7 separate regions of the Homo sapiens genome follow, and regions 1, 2, 3, 4, 5 and 7 are each linked to region 6. Evidence: promoter capture Hi-C in 16 types of primary human blood cells and fetal thymus (Javierre and others, 2016). All regions are on one chromosome and are shown on one strand. The core of a region is centred on a gene start or on the middle of the fragment in contact, and the rest is flanking DNA. Distances in the headings are between cores, read along the strand shown.

Region 1 (3,099 bases), core at 577-3,076, 1.1 Mb after region 6:
TGATGTGTGGAAAATCCTCTTCAATTTTGCTTCCTGTGTTTTTGAAAATTTGTAGTGCAGCTTCTGCTACTTTTTCATCATCCATTTTCAGACAAGCCAGTAATGATTCAAATGTTTCAGCAGAATGAAATGAGATGGGATGTGTAAATGAGAGTACCTATAAAATGAATCATAAAAATGATTTGTAAAACTTTTTCATCTTTATAATACAAATCCAAAATATTACATATTAGAAATACTATAAATCAAAGTCTATTAAAAAAAATTATGTTGACCAAAATCTGAGAGCACTATAAATAAAATTTAAAACATACTCAACTATGTAACAGAAATGTTCCTCTGTAGGAAGATTGTATGATATAATGAAGTAATTTCTTCCAAAATTAAATTACATGTTAATATAATTTTAATCAAAATAATTTAGATTTTGATTATTGTTCAGGTTTTTTGGTGGGGAATGAGAGGAGAAAAGGGGACATGAAGAGAGAATTTAACAAAACATCTCTCATCTTCTCAATAAACATCATTAGCAGAGACTGAAGAAGAGGAGAATAAACTAGACTGACCAGACAGTAAAAAAGTCTATAAAGTTCCAATGTCCAAATCACAATGGTACGAACATTAGAATAATCATGAAACAGAAAATGTAAGGCAGTTAAGTAGACTCTAGAATATATAAAAAATTAGATTATATAAATTGTAAGAGATTACAAAGAAGTCAACAGAAAATAAATAGTCCTGGGAAAACTGAATAGCTATTGGGAGAAAATCAAATTAGACCCCTTGCCCCCACAACACACTTTCAAAATAAATTTCAGATGGGTTGTGTTTAAGATTTTAAAAAATAAAAACAACAAAAACCCTCTGTATAAGATAGGGTTTTTTAAAGCATAAAATAAACAAAAGGAATCAAATGTGGAATGTAAAAAAAACAGCACACAGCAGAAAAATATACTAAGTATAATGCCACATTTATAAGTTTCTAAAATAATCAAAATAAGCAACATGTTATTTAGAGATACATACATAGATGATAAAACTATAAAGAATATTGAAAGAATAATAAATCCAAAATTCAGGACAATGATACCTGGTAAGGGGATGTAAGCAGGCAAGAAAAAAGACTACTCAGGGAACTTGAACAGTATTTTTAATATTCAATTTAATTTGACACTCTATTTACTTTTCACTTGTATTCACTTGGTTACTACACTTCATAATTTACATATAAGAGAATACATGTTTGTACATATATCAAATATGTCCCAGGAAAAAGCAAAGGAAATAAAAAGCTTATTTAAATCAGTTTAAAAAAAAACAAAAGATAGAGATGTCAGTAGATGTATGAGCAAAGGATAAAAATGACCATAGGGAAAACACAAATGATTAACATATGGACCTCACTAGTATTAAATATGCAAATTAAAACATTATTTTTGCTTATCAGATTCGCAAATCTTTTAAAAATGTATTATATTCCATATTTTGAAGGTTAAAAAGACGGGTACCTTCACATACTACTGATGGGATTATATATCGGTAAAATTTCCCTGTACAGCAATTTAAATATATATTGCTCCAAGAATTTTGAAAGTGGTCACTCTCTTTAACTCAGTAATGCTCTCCCAGTTTTCTAAAAAATAAGATATTACCAAGAGATCTTACATAGAAACATTCACCTTAGTGTTGTTTGTAAGAATAAAAGTAGAAAAATCAAAATATTCAACAATAGGAAAATACTAGTGATACAGAGAAAGGAGAGTCCCAAAGTGAGGATTAGCCCGCAAGGATTCTTGGCTTTGCCAAGGAAAGAATTCAAGGGCAAGCCAGTGATAGGGCAGAAGAAAATAGCTTTACTGAAGCAGCAGTCTTACTGCTCCGGAGGTGTTACATACACCTCTATGACTGCTTCTGCAGAACAGTACTACCCCATAGGTAGGGTGCAGAGAGTTGTAGCTCAGGGCAGTTTTACAGTAATATTTATACCTACTTTTAATTATATACAGACTAAGGGGGCAGTTTATGCAGAAATTCCTAGGGAACGGGGAGTAGCTTTTGGGTCATCAGGTCATTGCCAAGGAAAGGGACAGTAACTCCGGGGTATTGCCATAGCAATGGTAAACTGACAAGGCACATTGGTGGGCATGTCTTCTGGAAAGCTGCTTCTATCTCGCCCTTGTTTTAGCTAGTCCTCAATTTGGTCCTGTATCTGAGCTCCGCCTCTGGAGTCCAGTCCTGCCTCCTACCTCGGTAGGATAGTATGATGCCCCAAATATGGGCTAATCACCATTTCAAAAATGTTTATTATTATTTTTACTATGAGCTAGGCATGGTGCTAAGAAATTCATGTACAAGCTTTAACGTCCTTTGCAAGACAAGTACTTTATTATTATCTCGATTTCATATGAGGAAATGAGGCAAGTAATGTGGTCAAAGGCAGACAGCTACTAGATGACAGCCAAAAACCAGATCTGCTTTAGACACTCTTAAAAAAAAAAACTCTTGAAAAACACCGAGAAAAATGCTTATACTTTAATAAGGGAAAATAGTTAAGGATACAAAATTGTATATTCAGTTTGATCTCAATGATCCCAACTATGCATTTGTTGAAGATTAAAAGGAAACAAAAGAAACTAATGTTTATGTATGATCAACCTATGTTTTTTATAATTTTATATATTCTAAAGTTGTCAATAATGAATTAATATTTTTACAATCAGTAAAAGACAGAATATTTTATGAAACAAAAAAAAATAAGAGTTTTAGAAAGAATTTGGCTCATTCTACAGCAGAGTTGTACCTTCTTTGCTCACTAATGACACCCTGAATTATACTCCACTATTTTAATATAATTAGTACTAGGCTAGATTACAGCATTTAAACCCCAAAATAATCAGATTACATGTAAGAATAAATATACAACTTCTAAATCATCTAAAACAACTGAGAAAATTTTACTTTGGATTATACAAACTTAAGAAGAAAACATCAAGAACAAATAATATAAACTGTATATGTTAAACAGATATCTAATTAGGCACTTAATTTTAAATAGATACTTACCTTAAGCAGTTCAAGACCTGCTCTGATGGCTTGATC
Region 2 (3,229 bases), core at 669-3,168, 1.1 Mb after region 6:
AGAACTCTAAGGAACTAAGAGTTCATAGGTGTTCATTGTATTATGAAACATGTTATACAAATGTTACATATATTCCTTTGTACATATCAAATATATAATAAAACAAGACAAATTAATGGATTAAAAATGGTGAGCAGTTCTGTTTCTGACAAGATGTGACTAGGTTGTTTTGAACCAATTTTCATACTGAAACAAACGGAAAGGCTAAACAAAATATTTTTTAAAAATCAGTTTGAAGGCAACAGACAGCTACCAAAGCAGTGAGAATTTGCAGGGCAAAGTTTCAAATAAGGAGGGAAAGCAAAGATTTGAGTCTGGCACTGAGATTAGTTTTTTCACACAGACGATTAATGATTCTGAAAGTGAAAGGGGGATAAGAAGTTGAGCAAAGCTTTCCTGTCACAGAGCTAGAAGAACAAGATTAAGAATCCTGAGCCCATTAAGTAAAGGCCTTGTTAAACAACCTGGACTTCTGGGTGGATCCCAGACAAATATACTCTAGACATAAGGTGACCAGAAAAAAATAATAAGCTTGTCCAAAACTGAAGCCAAACTTCCATTTTCATTGGATGGAAGTGATCTGACGATAGCTTAACTGCCTGATAGAAACAAAAGTAAAACTCTGGGAAGAATATAACCACATCTGAAGCCTCACATTATCTCAACAACTTTTCATACAAAAAGTCTATCACTCAATCAAAAGCAATATATGTACAAGGTAAGATTTGACCAAAATTTTGAGAATAGACAAAAGTTACAAGAGATCAAGATGATAAGCCTAACAGATACAAACTTCACATAATTAAGATTTTTCAAGGATTTAATGACAAGCAAATTCTGCAGCAAAACAAAGAGCTATGTTTAAAAACTATAGAATTACAGAATTGAAGTATGTGTATATATGTGAAATTAAGAATTCAAAGCATGAGCTTTAGGTACGACTAGACAAAACTGAAGCGAGTGAACTCAAAGATAGGTCAGAAAAAAAACAAAAACTGAAGCATGAGGAGGCTGGCAGAAAAGTACACAAAAGTGTGTCACACAGCTAGGTCACAGCAAAAAAACAATGTACGTTTAAAGTGTGTTAATAGAACTGCAGTAAGAAAGGAAAGAGAATATGAAACAGAAATCGTATATGTAAAGATAATGCCTAAAAATTATTTAAAGTTTGTAAAAAACTTTAAGCTATATATACAAGAAGAGCTCTAAGCCCCAAGTACAATAACTATAAAGGAAAGCATACCCAGACACATCATAGTAAAACTGGAAACCAATGGAAAACAGAAAAGACAAAAACATTCACAGCAAACAGACAGAAGACCTTCAGAGGAACAAGACTGTCAATAAACTTCAAGAAAAAAGAAAATGGAAAATAGAATAATATATTCAAATCACTGATGGGGGAAAATACACCAGTCTAGAATTCTTAACCCAAAGAAAGCATCCTTTAAAAAATTAAGGTAAAATAAAGATCTTTCCAGACAAACAAAAACTGAGAAAATTCATTAGTGGAAATCCAAACTAAAAAAAAAGTACTAAAGTAGTTCTTTAGATAGAAAGAAAATCATTACATAGAAAGGAATGAAAAACAAAAGGAGAAAATATGTTGGCAAATCTAAATAAACATTAACTGCATAAAATAACAGCAGTAATAGAACTGGGTGAACAAGAGCACAAAAAAGCACCAAGGAATAAAAGGAATTAAAGTATTTTGAAGTTCCTTGTGCTATACTGAAAGTTCAAAGCAGACCAACTGACACTGGCCTTTAATAAGTCCAAAGTCCATGTTGTAATTTCTAGGAAAACTACTAAAATAATAGCAAAATGTAAAACAGACTGGTAAAATGAAATAAAAATATTTAATCAAAAATAAGAAAAGAGAAAAATACACAACTGACAGGACAAACTGAAAACAAAAAATCAGGTGGCAGATTAACCCAGATATCACTACTTATATTATGTTTACTTTTTGGAGGAAAAACTTTATCTCATGTTTCTTTTAATTCTCCAGAGAACCTAGTACAGTGCTGTCACAGCAGATACAAAATAACTGGAGACTAACAAAATCATTATTTCCTCTCCCAATGTTTTTTCGTTCTCTCCCAATGTAGGGAAAAGAACAAGTTTATATAGAAAAAGGTAAAACTATAATCATGACAACCATACTATGAGCTGGTTTACCAATCTGCATATTTTTAAAAATAGATGTCCTGTCAAAAATTAAACCCCTGTAAATCTGAAATAGATAGCATCAGGTTATATTTTATATTTATCAAGGAATGTATTTGAGGTCATATGCCTATTCTCAACTAAAAAGATGTTTCAAGATGGTTTTGCTTATAATGGAGACAAGGCTTATTTTTTTTAAACAGGAAAACCTAAAATCAAGGCAGTCAAATGGAAGTATTATTGATATCATTTCACTTCTTTCCTTGTTGGATAAAATTGCAAAAGTTAACATTACAAAGAACATGAATCTAAAAAATATAAATTACCCGATCATTCATGAGAAGATCTTTCACAATGAAAGTAGCTACCAAAGATTTCAAAGGAGCAGCAAATTGATCAGGTGCAAGGAGAGCAATATGACCAATAGTAACCAATGGTGTTATGAGATGTTCCAGGTTGCTTGGATCTAGGCTCTTATGCAGAGGCTGAAAATGAGGGGAGGAAAATATATTTCAACTCTACACATATACAAATAAACTGTTTACATATTTCATTTTCAAATTACAAAATTTATTTTGTAATTTATTTTGTAATTCAAATTATAAAAACTACAAAAATTTCAATAAATATACATAGTATAAGTAGTAACTCAAGATTACATTTAGACTTCTATAGGTTATCTATGTCCAGAAGGCATCAGGTTCAAACATTTTCAGTTTTGCCCAATTCAGTTTAGAGGTAGGGTAAAGAAACATTTCGACACAGACTTCATAGCATATAGTTTATGACCATATACATGAATGTGTTAGAGACTGCTAGGGCTCACCAATATCCACTTCAATTTCCTGGGCATAAGGATGACTCTACTTGCAGCTTCCTGTGCAGTTAAGTGAGGATATATGAATGAGTTCTGGTCAAGAGAGTGGGAGTAAAATGAAGTATGCCACATATGCACTGAGGTAGGTATGAGCAATATGTCTTCTCCACAGGCTCTACTCACTGGCTGGCTTGATGCCAAGGATCCAGTGGGATTTAAAGAGAAGTCACTAATCAGAATGAG
Region 3 (3,078 bases), core at 330-2,829, 1.2 Mb after region 6:
GACCTGTAGTTCTTTATATATTCTGGACATTAAATCCTTGTTAAAGATATGACTTGCAAATATTTTCTTCTGTAGGTTGTGTTTTCATTTTCTTATGTCCTTTGATGCAGAAAAGTTTTTAATTTTTATAAAGTCCAATATATATTTTTTATTGTTTGTGCTAATAAATTCAGGTTCATAAAATTCTACTCCCATATTTTCTTCTAAAAGTATACAGGCTTAAATCTTACATTTACATCATTGATCATTTTGAGCTCATTTTTATCTACTATGTGAAGGAGAGGTCCAACTTAATTCTTTTGCATGTGGAAATCCAGTTGTCCCAGTGTCATCTGTTGAAGATATTCTTTCCCTCTTTGTTTTTAATAAGAATATCCTGGTTCCTCCTCTAGAAATTTTGATTCAGGAGGTGTGGGGAGAAGCTTCAGATTCTGCCGTTTTTAAGGAATGTCTCAGACAATTCCTATGGTCAGACAAGTTTAGAAAACAGTTTAGAACACAACTTCAGGTGCTCAATTCATGTTGTAAAGAAGCCAAAGAACTTTTTTTTCCCTTAAATCCTGGCTTTGCCTTCAGATACATATTCCTGGCCTATACTATATCCAACTGACAACTTAGGTAAGAACTCCTAATTTTCACAAAAAACTGTCAACTTTACTGCACCTTTGATCTCTAAAACATTGGGCTCTGCCAAAACAATACAATCAAACTTGCCACAATACAGACTCAGATCATTCATTCTTTCAACAACAAATATTTATTGAGCACCTATTATATCCCAGGTACTGTTGACTGGGGAATATAACTGTAGGAGAAAGCCAAAGATTATTGTTCTCGTGGCATAGCTTATATTAAAGTTGAAGGAAAACAGACAACAAATGTCAATGTATGTGTTAGATAATGTGAAATGTTAAGAAAAATAGGGGCCGAGCGCCACGGCTCACGCCTGTAATCCTAACACTTTGGGAGGTCAAGGCAGGTGGACTGCTTGAGCCCAGGAGTTTGAGACCAGCCTGGGCAACATGGTGAAACGCCACCACTACAAAAAATACAAAAAAATTAGTCCCAACTAACTGGGAGGCTGAGGTGAGAGGATCACCTAAGCCTAGGGATGTCGAGGCTACAGTGAGCCACGATCCCACCACTGCACCCCAGCCCAAGCAACAGAGTGAGACCCCATCTCAAAAAAAAAAAAAAAGAAAGAAAAAAAGAATCAATAGAGATGGCCAGGTGTGGTGGCTCATGCCTGTAATCCCAACACTTTGGAAGGCCAAGGCAGGTGGATCACTTGAGACAGGAGTTCGAGACCAGCCTGGCCAACATGGTGAAACCCTGTCTCCACCAAAAAAAGAAAAAATACAAAAATTATCCGGCCATGGTGGTGCATGCCTGTAATCTCAGCTACTCGGGAGGCTGAGGCAGGAGAATGACTTGAATCCAGGAGGCGGAGGTTACAGTAAGCCGAGATGGCGCCACTGCACTCCAGCCTGGACAGAAGTGAGACTCCGTCTGAAAAAAAAAAAAAAAGTAAGGAAGAGAACTGTTTTAGCTTGCAAAGACTGGAAAGGACTCTATGACAAGGTGACATTTGAGTGGAAACCTGAAAAAGAATGATGATAAACCATGCAAATACCTGAGGGAAGAATACTCAAGACAGAGTGAGGCTCAGAGATTTTAACCTTGCACTATCTACTACCCAACTACTATCAAAAAAGACCAGAGAACAATTATATTTCTGAAGGATTTTTTAAAGAAATCCCATTCATCACTTCCTCTACATCAGGGCTTCTCAACCTCAGCACTCTCACGTTTTTTGCCAAAAATTCTTTATTGCAAGTGGAGGTCAGGGTGCACCTGTGCATTGTACAATGTTCAGCAGCATCCCTGGGCTCTACTCACTAGATATGAGGAGGGCATGCACACCATCACCATCCCCAGTTGTGACAACCAAAAATGTCTCCAGACATTGCCAAGTGTCCCCTGCAGGGCAAAATCACCCCACACTGAGAACTACTGCTCTAGGTCTGTTCTTACACTCAGATTCCACATAGGAAACCCATAAATGGTCTTCAGGAGGTCTATGAACCATCTATAGTCATCTAAAAGAGTATACAGAGTTTGCATGCATGTGATAATGTACATTCTTCTGGGGAGATGGAGCAGAGCTTGTGGTGTATTCTCTAACATCTATCGTCAAAAAAGAAAGTTAAGGAACACTGCTTCTAATATCTCAAGGATGTGAAGAACAATACCTGGAAACTCCAAATTTGAGCTATACTTGTCTTGGCCCCTACATTCACTTTCAGTTAGTTGAATGCAATTGGGTATCTTCTTTCTTTTCTTTTTGGCTTTCATTAAGTAACCCATTAAAAGCCTATAAACTAGTCACTGAATTTGCTGAAAGATGTTTTTGGAAAATCATCAACTCTGATTTTATTATCATCCATATTTTTTAACAAATGAAGAAAACTGGGACAAGAGAAATTCGCTGATTTTGCCCAAGATCAGAAAGTTCCCAAATGGCAGAATTAGAACTACATCATACCTGCTTACATGGTTATATGGCTGGAAATGGCCACAGAGGCACACTCAACTTCTTGGTTTATTTCAAAAATAAACTATAAAAGCCCTGTAAGCAAGGTACAAAACCAATAAATCAAAGGGCATAAGATGAATAAGAAATATCAACCATAAGATAAACATTGTCTAAGAGCTATTGAGGAGAAGTGAAGCTTTATGTGACATCTGCATCCTCGCTGAAACCTAATGGGTCAGTGAGTAATGTAATGGATAACTCCAACAAGGATAAACACAGAAGTGAGTTTTAACCACCCCTTTTTATCCCTCAATGCAAGCCAAAGTACAATTCAAAGTACTTAAAGTATGATTCAGTAGAAAACATTCTACAAGAATTGTAGCCAACACAAGGTATCCAATGTAGCCAACACTCGGTATCCAAATATACAAGAAATGCAGCCAACACAAGGTATCCAAAAAGCCAGTGATCTCAATGTCTGGTTTGACCTAGAAAAAAAAGAAAAGGTTAAAAAAAAAAAATCGAACAACTCGGAGCAATGA
Region 4 (3,007 bases), core at 61-2,560, 1.0 Mb after region 6:
GCTACCAGCACCTTAATTTTGGTCTCCAGAATTTCCGGCCTCCAGAATTGTGAGCTAATAAATTTCTGTTAAGATATCCAGTTTGTAGTAGTTTTTATGGTGGCCCTAGCAAACTGATAAACCAGGTAAGATATAATAGTGGCTTGGATGGAAGTAGCAGTGGAGGTGGTTAGATCCTGGATATATTTTGCAAGAAGAGTCAACAGGATTTCCTGACAGATTAGAAAGGATGTGTGAGGGAAATGGAATCGACTTCATGGCTTGCGCATGAATAACTAAAATAATGAAATTGCTACAGATGGAGATGGGGAAAGCTGAGGTTGGACCGGGTTTGGAGGTGGGCACGGGTGGAAAGCCCAGGAATTCAGTTTTGGATATGTTATTAGAGATTGAATCAGGGATGATTATGACACAATTAATTGTGAGAATCAAACGAATTCAGTACATATTTGTTACATGTTTACTATGTACAAAGCACTGTGGCAGTTTTATATAGTATTCTTTAAATGTTTAAAAGTCTCTGTTTTATAGAAGCATAGGTGACAAGTTGTATGATGCTCCACCTCAAAATGGTGAAAACACTAAAACTAAGAAGTGGCATAGGCTATGCATGGGTTGGCCATAAAGTAATCAGAGTTTCTTTAATGGATTGTTAATTTCCTCTACAGATAATTTCATAGCTGTAAGTTAGCAAGATGATAATGACAAGTCATTACAGTTAATACTCTGAGGTATTCATTTAGAGTCATATGCTCTAGTGTGACTGGTTTTCTCAGTCTTGTTACTATAAAGATATGTATGCTTTGTGGGCTCAAGAATCAGAAAGATCTAAATCCAAATTCTGGCTCTGACCCAAGCCGTGTGAACATGGCAAGTTACTCTCCAAGTCTTGGTTCCTTTATCCGTAAAATGGTGATAAACATACCTCATAGGATTGTTGTAAAGAGTAATTAAGCGACACATATAAAATGCTTACTCTAGTGATCAGTTCACAGCAAGTACTCAATTAAACTATTACTATTCGTTTCTCATGGTGCTATAGGAATTCCGGTTGAAGCGAACCACTATCACTATATGGTCAGAAAAAAATATAATGGGACAAACAACCCCTAGGCTAGGACTTAAAGCAGAAGGGATATTTGCACAGGCAGCAGAGACCAATGCTTCTCAAGTTTTAAGGTGAATTTCAATTATCCAGGGATCTTACTGAAAAGCAGATTCTCAGGAGGTCTGGGGTGGGCTGTGAGATTCTGCATTCTTAACAAGCTCCCAGGTGATGCCCATCCTGCTGCTTGACCCACACTTTGAATACAAAGGGTCTAGATCACTGACAAGCAGAATGATGTAAGCCAGGACTAAGGGTGTAGATATACAGTGTGTTGAACGACAGGTACAGTCAGTCTGGCAGAAGTAAAGTTAACAGAAAATACCATGAAAAAGTTTGGAAAGTAGGATGAAGCCATATTCTGGCAGGCTGTGAAAGGCTTGTTGATTTTATACTTCATTGTGTAGTAGACAGCTGTGAGCGGGAGAACAATAGCTTGGTGGAGGTCAGGGAGGGTGGCTCACACCTGTAATCCCAACACTTTGGGAAGCTGAGGCAGGACTGCTTGAGTCCAGGAGTTCGAGAACAGCCTGGGCAACATAGTGAGACCTAGTCTCTACAAAAAGTACTGAAAAATTAGCCAGGTGTGGTGGCACACACCTGTAGTCCCAGCTACTTGGGAGATGGAGGTGGGAGGATTGCTTGAGCCCGGGAGTGCAAGGCTGCACTGAGCTGTGATCGCGCCTCTGCACTCCAGCCTGGGTGACAGAGCAAGACCTTGTCTCTAAAAAGAGAAAAGAATAACCTGGTAAGACAGCATCTTCACACACTCTGGTATTTATCTGTACAACACATCTGAACAAACAGGGGCTGAAGATGAAGAGGTCCGAGCAAGACTGCTCCAGTCAGGGTCCTTTCATCTGGGAGAAAGTGAAATCCCTTCAAACCAGTTTGAATAACAGGAAGTGGGGAGGTGGTTACTGCAAGGCCACAGTGCTCAGAAGGTGCAGGGGTGGATTCAGATCGAGGCCACCTCTTTCTCACGTAATCTCTAGGGACTTCTCTTCTTCTTTCCACACATCTGCTCACCCACCTTTGTCCTGCAGCAGGCTTTCCCTTAAATTCCTCTCACATATGGCCCAGAGTAGCCCGTGGATTTTTTATTTACTCTCCATGACTCACTGGAAACTTGTCTGTGTCTTTTAATTCAAATTCCTACAAGAAAATACAAACAGGTCACACAATACATAGGTCATTGTGAACGGGCTACTCTTCTCTGTGAGGTAGGATCAGAGGGAAGACAAGATCATGCAACTCAGTAGAGGCAATGTGCCACAGCAGATTAAAAAGGCTGTGGGCAGGTACCCCAATACATGTATGTTTAATGGGAAAAAATGTTCAAGTATAGTTTATCCTTAAAAAAAAAAAAAAAAGGCATCTCCTTGTTCCTCCTCATCCAGACTTCTCCAAATCAGCCTCCACTATCTCCACTTCCTGAACTCACATTTGCTCACCCCACTGCAGTCTGGCTTCTGCCTTCTTTTCCCCCACCCCAATAGTGCCCTAAGTCTGCACTATCAGAAGTCACCTGTGATTTCACAAGTCACTAAATACCAAAAACACTAACGTCAGTGTCTCTGTGGCTCCAATTCTGCCTTGTGTCAATAAGTACAGGGAATCTAGTTTCTCCACCAATATGCCCAAACAAATCCAATCACATCAAATATATCAGTTTGAATGAGGTAGTAATAAGGTGAGATTACACAATGAACATAATTTCATTTGACAAATTCTTTCCTCTGACATTTGCCTTTACTCAGTTTGTTCCTCTCCATATTCACCAAGGACAGCTCCTAGCCCCTCTGAAAGCTTGAAGCCAGCTGATCCCCAGAATCAAGGTTCAGTATTCTCCAACTTGAATGGTGATCTCACAAGAGGGAGTTCTCATCCCATACTCCTACT
Region 5 (3,052 bases), core at 153-2,652, 1.1 Mb after region 6:
TTTCACCAAACATTGCCTAGCATGAGCTCTTCTCTCCTTTACAGGATCTTTTGCACAAAGGGCACAGATTGCCATATACTCAAGTGGAAGCCGTAAACGGGAAAGGCCTTTGTGAAGTTTCTGGGCAAACACTTGTCTTACTTGATAGCATTCATCCTGTAAAGACACAATTATTCCAGATATTATTCAAATGGCAGCAAAGAGTAACAACTTCAGATATAAAATTTGCTATTTTAAGTAAAGAGTAAACAGTAGCAAGTTTATCTACAATAATTGCTTCACTGCTCACAAGAGTGAGATGTTGTGACTAAAGTTCATTTTGAAGCTGCAATATTCATCTGGGCCCTAATAAGTACCAGTTAGATGTGTTAGAAAACAAACATACTTTTAAAACAGAAAAAAACTAGTAAATATAAATCTGCCCTAACTTAAATAAGATACAAAAATTAAGGCTTAAACACCATCTCATATATATCTTTTTCATTTACTGGGCAAGATAAAACTGCCCAATTTATACATTTTAGTTCTGTCACTGAAAAAAACTATTCATATTAAAATGTACAACTCTAGCTGGGCATGGTGGTACACACCTGTAGTCCCAACTACTCGGGAGGCTAAGGCAGACATAGCAAGACCCTGTCTCTTAATAAAGAAATAAAAAGCACAACTCTGAAGGTAAGGATTACTAATCCATTTCAGAAACACCAAATTATTTTGACTTCTATACTTAAACCAGGCTGATTATTACCCGTGTGCCTGCTTAACTCATACTACTCCCCTCTCCTAAACTACCCACCCCTAGTCTCCTAGCTAACTCCTACTTATCCTTAAAGATAGCTTATATATCAGACAGAACGCAGTGTGTAATCTGTATCCAGCACCCACCTCTGTGCTCTTAGCATTCTGTACTTATCTCCAGCATAGCATTTAGTATAAAGTATTAAAATGATTGGTTTAAATGTCTGTCTTACCCACCAGTACTTGTTCCTTGAAGAAAAGAATTATGTTTTTATCTCTCTAAGCCTAACAAAAAACCTGGCACATAGATGATCAGAAGTTTTTCTGAACGACACTAGCTCCCCCTTATCAGTGGAGGTAGAGGATACATTCCAAGACCCACAGTGGATGCCTGAAACTGAGGATAGTACCAAATCCTATATATATTACGCGTTTTTCTATATATAGATACCTATGATAAAGTTTAATTTATAAATTAGGCACAGCAAGAAATTAACAGTAACTAATAAGATAGAACAAGTATAACAATATACTATATAATAAATGTTATGTGAATGTGGTCTCCCTTGTTCTTAAAATATCTTACTGTGGAAAAGCAAAACCAAAGATAGGGGAGACTACTGCACAGGGAAAAGTTCAAACTTTTCTATATGACCTACAAAGACCTTCATGATTACACCTTACACTCCACCAATTAAATAAGGTATGGTGTGTTTCTTACTATTGTAACAATTTCTTCATCTAGAATGATCATTTAGTTTATCTTCCCCAAAAATCTTGGTCATAACATCTCATCCTTATCTTTAAATCCTTATTTTAAAATCTTCTTTCATTTCATTTAAATTTCAGTTTATCAAAATACCAAACATCTAGTTTTACAGAAGTAGTCTAAACTAAAGAGCTTCTGCACAGCAAAAGAAACAAACCATCAACAGAGTAAACAGACAAACTACAGAATGGGAGAAAATTTTTGCAAACTATGCATCCAACAAAAGTCTAATATCCAGAATCTCTAAGAAACTTAAATAAATTAACAAACAAAAACCAAACAACTCCATTAAAAAGTGGGCAAAGGACATAGACACTTTTCAAAAGAAGATATACACACAGACAACAAGCATATGAAAAAATGTTCAACATCGTTAATCATTAGTGAAATGCAAATCAAAACCACGAGATACCATCTCATACCAGTCAGAACGGCCATTATTAGAAAGCCAAAAAATAATAGATGCTGGTGAGACTGTGGAGAAAGGGGAGCACTAATACAATGCTGGTGAGAATGTAAATTAGTTTAGCCATTGCGGAAAGCAGGTTGGTGATTTCTCAAAGAACTGAAAACAGGACTACCATTTGACATAGCAATCCCATTACTGGGTATATACCCAAAGGATTATAAATCATGTCTACCATGAAGGCACATGTATGTATGTATATGTTCACTGCAGCACTATTCACAACAGCAAAGACACAGAATCAATCTAAATGTCCATCAACAGTACACTGGATAAAGAAAATGTGATACAGATACACCATGGAATACTACATGTGCTTTTTGCAGCAATATGGATGGAGCTGGAGGCCATTACCTTTAGTGAATAAAGGAACAGAAAACCAAATACTGCTGTTCTCACTTGAAAGTGGGAGCTAAACATTGAGTACACATGAACACAAAGAAGAGAAGAACAGACACCAAAGCCTTCTTGAGGGTGGAGGGTAGGAGGGTGAAGATGGAAAAACTACCTTTTGGGTACTATGCTTATCACCTGTGTGATGAAATAATCTGTACACCTAACTTCTGTGACAAACAATTTACCTAGATAACAAACCTGTACATGTACCCCTGAACCTAAAGTTTAAAACACACACACACACACACACACACACACACACACACACACAGAGGGAGGCCGGGCGCAGTGGCTCACGCCTGAAATTCCAACACTTTGGGAGGCCAAGGCAAGTGGATCACCTGAGGTCAGGAGTTCGAGACCAGCCTGGCCAACATGGTGAAGCCCTGTTTCTACTGAAAATACAATAATTAGCCAGGTGTGGTGGCAGGCACCTGTAATCCCAGCTACTTGGGAGGCTGAGGCAGGAGAATCGCTTAAACCCGGGAGGCAGAGGTTACAGTGAGCCGAGATCACACCACTGCACTCCAGCCTGGGTGACAGAGCAAGACTCCATTTTGGGGGGAGGAGGGGGGAATTAGCTGTAGGGAGGGAAGGGGAAGAAGCAGTCTAGTTTTCACAGAAAGTTATCTACCCTCATACTCCACGAAACAAAGTTAACATTAACTCACCCCGCCCTCAGT
Region 6 (3,214 bases), core at 449-2,948:
CATAGTTTGATTAAGCTGCAAATAAAAGAGTAAACAGGTGAACATTTCTTAAAAGCAAATTTAACACATAAGACCATTATATTAAATTCATGTCCAAAATATACATTCCAAATTCTGTACAACAAAATGTGGCCACAGAAAATAAAATGTATTCTATCACTAGGAAAACTGAAGACAAAGCTATTGACGGAAAATGTAATTTGTCTATAAATGATGGATACTGCAGTAATCAATTTATTTTAAATTAGTATACATGCAGTATCAATAAAGAGACCAAAAAAAAACCTTCAATGTCACAACACTATCAACTAGTCTAATGATTTTTACGTGTACAATCTTTTCTTATTATTTCTTATTTTTAAGACGCACTTAATTAAATAGTATCTGTAAATCTAAGAAAGGTCGGAAGGGAAAACCAGGGTATTGGGCAAAAACGTTTCCATCAGCATCATATATTAATTTGAGTTCCTTAAAAGGAGTGGATAAATGTCTTCCACAGACACTTTATTCTCCTAAAGATCCTTCTTTACTCTCTACTCCCTGGAAGATTCAGTTCGTTCTCACAAAATATTGCCATTGGGCACTTTTATCAACTACAACAGACAAAGAGGCATCAGGATAGAGGGGAGAGGATCTTTCACAAAGCTCTAATCTCAGCCACGCACGGTGGCCCACGCCTGTAATCCCAGCACTTTGGGAGGCCGAGGCAGGCGGATCACCTGAGGTCAGGAGTTCGAGACCAGCCTGGCCAACGTGGTGAAACCCCGTCTCTACTGAAAAATACAAAAATTAGCTGTGCGTGGTGGCGGGCGCCTGTAATCCCAGCTACTCGGGAGGCTGAGGCAGGAGAATCGCTTGAACCCGTGAGGCGGAGGTTGCAGTGAGCCGAGACCGCGCCATTGCATTCCAGCCTGGGCGACAACAGCTAAACTCCGTCTCAAAAAAAAAAAAAAAAAAAAAAAAAACTAATCTCAGGAACGTCCTAATACAATTTATTTGAGAATTAGAAACGATCTTTGGAGTAAATACATATTTACAACACTTTACTTGTAAATGACAATGACATCGAGAAATCTTAAGCCAGCTAGAAAGTAAATCACATGGTGTCATCTCCGCTCAAAATGCTCCAACGGCTTCTCGTCTTATTCTGAGACTGACTGGGTCTGCACTCCAACTCCATCCCAACACATACACCCATCTCCGATTACCCTTCCCGCTGGTTCACCACTATCGGCTACGCCGGCCTCCTGAGGTTCTTAGAACATGCCGTGCACATCCCTGCCCGGGAATTTTGCACTTGCTGTCCCCTCTTACCTGTTCCACTCTTTGCTCGGATTTCTGTATTTATGACTTTTCAATTTCCTTCAAGTCTCGGCTCAGATGCCACTTCTCAGTGGAGCTTTTCTTGTTTAAAAATACAAGCCAGCCTCCCACACCTCTTCCCCCTTCCCTGTGTTATTTTTCTCCATAGCACTTATCACCTTCCAATGCGGGCGGGAGAAGCACTGCTCCTCAGGGGGGCGCGAAACCCCGAGCCGGGGGGCCTCCCCTCTCCCACGCTCCCGGCCCCCGCAGACTCACCAGGTTCCGCAGCTGGGCCGCCTGCTCCTTGTGATAGTCCAGCCGTCCCAAGGAGCAGGGCCGATACTTGTCCACCCAGAGGCTCATGGCAGCTCGAGTTCCCGGGGGCCTACGCTTGAAAATCCCGCGCGAGCGCGCGTCCTCCCCACAACGCAGAGACAAGTTTTCCCGCGAGCTCCAAATCTCGTGACGTCACTACCGGTCGCGGCCGCGTAAATGATTTTGGACGGAAAGGCTACGGGGGCCGTGTGCAGACAAAATCAGCTGCCGCGTCGATGCCCTCTAGTTCTGAAGTTCACTGCTTTATTTATTTTCTCTTTGTTCGCACCGTCTATTATATTCTAGAAATTATCAAGCGGAATTGAAAATGTGGTTCTGACCCTTTTGGCGTCACATCCAGATACCTCAGAGAAGACCGTTCCTTTCATTTATTCATTCTTTCATTCACTTAATTCATTCAACAAAAATTTACTAAATATCTGCTAGGTGTGGAACTCTGTCCTCGGCACTAGAATATATACATCTCAGGGTTTCACTCACTTGGCAGGTACCCAGTAAAGCTTCATTGGATGAATCGCTTGAAAATGTCTGATCTTCACTATCCTTTGTTACCTCTATTCCTCAATATTCTTATTGGATTAGAAACAAAAGAATCAAGAGCATGGAAAAACTACCCAAATGTGGTCTGTAGGGGAGAAGACACGAGGTTAATATGCATTCTAAGTCTAGAATATTTGAAAGCCCTCCAATTAAAATGTGTAGAAGCATCTGAACCCCTCAGAAAAATATTCTGCATATGAAGTTGATATGCAACTTTTGAAGTTCTCTTCAAATAGTGCCTCTCAAAATGCACTTTACTCATTGTACATAATATTAATTCCTTATTTAATTTATGCTTTTATTTTATGTATTATTAAGAACCCTAAGTCCTGCCATTTGATTGCAAGGTCTTACAGGCAGGAAATGATTTCCAAATATACTTAATAACCTTTCACCAAGGTGCCTCTTACTCATTTATTAATCAATAATTTATCATGTTCTTCTATGAATCGTCATATTACATGAATTACTCCTGCAGGTAAGGTATTATCCACACCACCAAGTATAAGATTTAATCCCTGTTCTCGAGAAACTTTCTATAATAAGCCTGGAAGGCTTCTGCCTCAGGGCCTTTGCAATTACTGTTTCCTCTTCCTGGACTATGTTTCTCCAGTCAGCAGAGTTGGGTCCCTCATTTCCTTCAGGATGTTGGCTCAAGTATTATCTCCTCACTGAGGCTTCCCTGACCACCCTATTTAATATTGCAAAAAAGCTTCATCTTCTTTATGCTTCTCTCCTTTGGAATTGAAATGGAGGAAGTGTTTGAAATGAGAAGGTAAAGGAAATCAGAAGCAGGGATACTGAATTGTGGTCTATGTGTATATCATAATCATAATGAATGATAATGGAAATAAGTACTGAGAGGAATAAAGAGAAGAACCAAGTGCTAGAATGATCAATAATTTGGCAAGAGTGACCACAGGCATGACAGACAACTTCAATAAGGAGCAGTGGTTGATGGTCTCTACCGTGAAGACATGTCTCTACCATTGAAGCACATGAAGACATGTGCTTCAATATTGTTGGGGGTTCT
Region 7 (3,290 bases), core at 417-2,916, 1.2 Mb after region 6:
TCTTTGAATGAGCCATGACAGAAATATTTCTACCCCTGAAACAAGAAAACTATTAGATGCAAACCAAAAAATAGATATAAACATTCTTAACAAACATAAATGGTAACCTTCCCCACCAACCAAAATTTGTAACTACCTCCTAATTTATAGTAATTTACTTTACCATTTAATGAAAATCACTCTATTGAACATTTCCCCAAATTATTTTTAGAAAAACAAAACTTATTTTTACTTTCATTTCCTCAGTGGCAAGCTTTGTTATTTGTCCTAACCCTCCAACTAAAAATAATAATAATAATAGTAAGCTAGAGAAAAATAAAAAATAAATACTTTTTAAAAGCACCACAAAGTACTCAAACTAAAACCTAAGAGAAAATAGGAATCCAGGGAAGTAAGTGGGAACACTGGGACATTATAGCTACTTATACTCTGAAAGCATTTTTCATTTCTGACAAATGTGGGATTCAGTTTTGATGGTCTTATAGGGCAAGGGGAACAGAAGTAAATCTGAACATATCAAGGCAGACAGTCAAATAGGAAACTCTCCTGACATTAATGTAGGCCACCACCCTACCCAAAGAAGATATACCTGCAAAGGAGAGGGTAAACTAGAAATGAACACCTCTTTTCCCCAGCCCCACCCCCTAGAGGGAACCGCTGAGAAGGCTGCCTTGGTGCTAAACAGAGAAAGGCAACATGAATACAGGGAAGGAACAGGTAATTAGTTTTGGCCATGGGCCTGCACACTTGCTGGGGCTGACATGACCTAAGTGGCCCAGAGAATCTCAAAACATGAACTCACAGACCCCTGGTTAATAACAGCCCCAAGCACCTAACATAAGTAAATCCAAGTCCTGCCTAGAGAAGGGTGCCTTCATCCTAAGTATCAAAGAATCCCCACTATGATGTTTCTAGAACAATGAGCAAGTATCAAGTCAAAAATAACCAAGCAACTATGAGGGAGAACCAGCAGAAATACCACACAACAAAAACAGACACAATTTTTGTGTCTATCAAAGACTGTAAAACTACTATAATCTTAAAGAAATAAAAGACAATTCCAAAAATATCTACAGGAAACAAAAAAAATTATAAAGACTAAACTAGAAGATTTTTTTTAAATAGAACTTCTAAAAATGAAAAAATACAATTACTGAAATTGAAAATTCAACAGGTCAATGTATTCGCAGATACGAAAAACCATTAAAGGCCAGGTGGGATTGCTCACGCCTGTAATCCCAGCACATTTGGGAGGCCAAGGCAGGCCTTTTGAGCTTAAACTTTGAGCTCCAAAGTTTAAGAACAGCCTGGGCAACATACCAAAATCCCATCTCTACAAAAAATACAAAAATCAGCCAGGTGTGGTGGCACACCCCTGTAGTCCCAGATACTCGGGAGGCTGCAGTAGGGGAGCTGCTTGAACCCAGGAGGTAGAGGTTGCAGTGAGCTGAGATTGCGCCACTGCATTCCACCTGTCTCAAAAAAGAAAGAATGAAGTGAAAGAAAGGTCATAAGAAATTATCCGGAGTGCAACACAGTGAAACATACACCTGAAATACATAAGGATAGAAAGGCCTAAATGTAGCCTACAATTCATGGAAGTTATAGAGAGAGAAGAATGAGAGATTCACTCATGGGATTCATGAGAGTACCAGAAGGACTAGATTGAAGCAGAGGCCAAATACCTACAGAGAATATCATAAAATACCAACCTACAAATTCAGTAAGCCAAACAGGGTTAAATTTAAAATAATAATAATTCCAGAAAACAAACAAAATTTAGAGCACACACAGTACCTTGAAAGGAATAGCATTTAAACTAACAGGTGACTTCTCAACAGCAACAACATAAGCCAGAAGACAGCAAAATGTTATCTTCAAAGCAGAGAAAGAATATAACTGCAAATCTAGAAGTTTACAACCAAGGAGTATAATTTTTAAGTGCAGAGTAAAATAAGGGCAAATTAGCCAAATGAAAACTAAGAGGTGTAAGTATTTATATATAAAGTACCTACAACATTGCTTAGCACATACTAAGTACTATATGTGTATGTAATATACACAATCAGGTTAAAAGAAAAGATTTTTAAATTTCAACATAAACACCTTAAAAGACAATGAAAAAAGTGGATACATGCTGAAAGTAAAAGGATGGAAAATTATGTCATGCAAACACTAAAACCCGTTAAGCTAAATATCAAGTTAAAAAAAAAAAAGATAAATAGGCCCCAGATTCACTCTGTGGTATTTACTCAATAGAAACGTATAGTTTGTCCACCGTAAGACATATAAAAAAATGTTCACAGCAATACCATTCAGTTGCCAAAACAGAAAACACAAATGACCATCAACACTAGAATGAATAGCAATTTGTAGTATAGTCATACAATGGGGGCAAAAAAAAAAAAAAAAAAAAAAACACAGCCATGAGAGAATAAATCATTGCCTCACACAATAATATGGATTAACATTACAAACATCTGGATGGGCATGATGGTTCACATCTGTAATCCCAGCATCTGGGAAGGCTAAGGCAGGTGGATCACTTGAGCCCAGGAGTTCAAGACCAGCCTGGGCAATACAGTGAGACCTCATCTCTACAAAAAATAAAAATAAATTAGCCAAGCATAGTGGTGTGCACCTGTGGTCCCAGCTACCCGGGAAGCTGAGGTGGAAGTCCTGCTTAAGCCCAGGAAGTCAAAGCCACAGCAAGCCATGATCACACCACTGCACTCAAGCCTGAATGACAGAGTGGACCTTGTCTCAACACACACCACACACCACACACCACACACCCACACACCCACACACACACATCAAAGTGAAAGAAGCCAGACACAAAACACTACATAAGAGTATGATTACATTTATAAGCTCGAAAACAGAGAAACCTAATCTATGACAGTAAAAGTCAGGACAGTGATGTTTTGGGAGACAAATGTTAACGGAAAAAGGGGTGAAAAGATACTTCTAAGATGCTAGTTACACAAGTATTTTCACTTTGTGTGAAGTCATATAGAGCTAAAGACATAAGTTTTACACTTTCCTGAATGTATGTTATACTTCAACAAAAAGCTTAACAAAACAGATAACAAGAAAAGCTCCAGACATTTACATTTTTTAAAGCACTTCTTAATAATCAATGAATCAAAAGAAAACAAGCGTAGGATCAACAAAGTCAAAAATCACAGGTCAATCTTATAAATTTGATAATATAACATTTGAAAATGTAGATAAAGCTGAGAAACTACATCTTATTACCAAAACTAACTCAAGAAAGAAAAAAATGA

What was found. Contacts are between HindIII fragments. The CHiCAGO score rates a contact against its expected background, and 5 or more counts as called.
Region 1: a fragment that was not itself captured here is called in contact with the fragment with the promoter of RFC3 in region 6 in 1 of 17 cell types (naive CD4 T cells); the score reaches 5.1 in naive CD4 T cells.
Region 2: a contact is called between a fragment that was not itself captured here and the fragment with the promoter of RFC3 in region 6, in 5 of 17 cell types (activated CD4 T cells, naive CD4 T cells, total CD4 T cells and 2 more). The highest score is 7.4, in activated CD4 T cells.
Region 3: a fragment that was not itself captured here is called in contact with the fragment with the promoter of RFC3 in region 6 in 1 of 17 cell types (naive CD8 T cells); the score reaches 6.5 in naive CD8 T cells.
Region 4: a contact is called between a fragment that was not itself captured here and the fragment with the promoter of RFC3 in region 6, in 1 of 17 cell types (naive CD8 T cells). The highest score is 5.1, in naive CD8 T cells.
Region 5: a fragment that was not itself captured here is called in contact with the fragment with the promoter of RFC3 in region 6 in 1 of 17 cell types (total CD4 T cells); the score reaches 5.1 in total CD4 T cells.
Region 7: a contact is called between a fragment that was not itself captured here and the fragment with the promoter of RFC3 in region 6, in 7 of 17 cell types (fetal thymus, naive CD8 T cells, total CD4 T cells and 4 more). The highest score is 8.5, in fetal thymus.

Annotation. Positions count from the first base shown.
Region 1 is chr13:32,707,004-32,710,102 of GRCh38, reverse strand. It overlaps PDS5B (PDS5 cohesin associated factor B), which reads right to left. Exons shown (of 35, transcript NM_015032.4): 18 at 3,064-3,099; 19 at 1-157. Among named protein-coding and RNA genes, the nearest start is that of PDS5B, 120 kb to the right of the region's middle. The HindIII fragment of the contact is 1,063 bases long and covers 1,295-2,357 here.
Region 2 is chr13:32,734,597-32,737,825 of GRCh38, reverse strand. It overlaps PDS5B (PDS5 cohesin associated factor B), which reads right to left. Exons shown (of 35, transcript NM_015032.4): 21 at 2,496-2,654. Among named protein-coding and RNA genes, the nearest start is that of PDS5B, 150 kb to the right of the region's middle. The HindIII fragment of the contact is 2,769 bases long and covers 534-3,229 here.
Region 3 is chr13:32,629,239-32,632,316 of GRCh38, reverse strand. The region is part of intron 1 of PDS5B (PDS5 cohesin associated factor B); the gene reads right to left. Among named protein-coding and RNA genes, the nearest start is that of PDS5B, 44 kb to the right of the region's middle. The HindIII fragment of the contact is 2,310 bases long and covers 425-2,734 here.
Region 4 is chr13:32,790,891-32,793,897 of GRCh38, reverse strand. No RefSeq gene overlaps it. Among named protein-coding and RNA genes, the nearest start is that of LINC00423, 120 kb to the left of the region's middle. The HindIII fragment of the contact is 3,212 bases long and covers 1-2,916 here.
Region 5 is chr13:32,750,436-32,753,487 of GRCh38, reverse strand. It overlaps PDS5B (PDS5 cohesin associated factor B), which reads right to left. Exons shown (of 35, transcript NM_015032.4): 25 at 1-156. Among named protein-coding and RNA genes, the nearest start is that of LINC00423, 160 kb to the left of the region's middle. RefSeq lists a silencer at 2,863-3,052. The HindIII fragment of the contact is 4,555 bases long and covers 1-3,052 here.
Region 6 is chr13:33,816,633-33,819,846 of GRCh38, reverse strand. RFC3 (replication factor C subunit 3) reads right to left here and starts at 1,698. Exons shown (of 9, transcript NM_002915.4): 1 at 1,582-1,698. The coding sequence starts at 1,668. The HindIII fragment of the contact is 2,489 bases long and covers 1-2,143 here.
Region 7 is chr13:32,645,499-32,648,788 of GRCh38, reverse strand. It overlaps PDS5B (PDS5 cohesin associated factor B), which reads right to left. Exons shown (of 35, transcript NM_015032.4): 2 at 1-35. The coding sequence starts at 16. Among named protein-coding and RNA genes, the nearest start is that of PDS5B, 61 kb to the right of the region's middle. RefSeq lists an enhancer at 2,509-2,618. The HindIII fragment of the contact is 2,822 bases long and covers 256-3,077 here.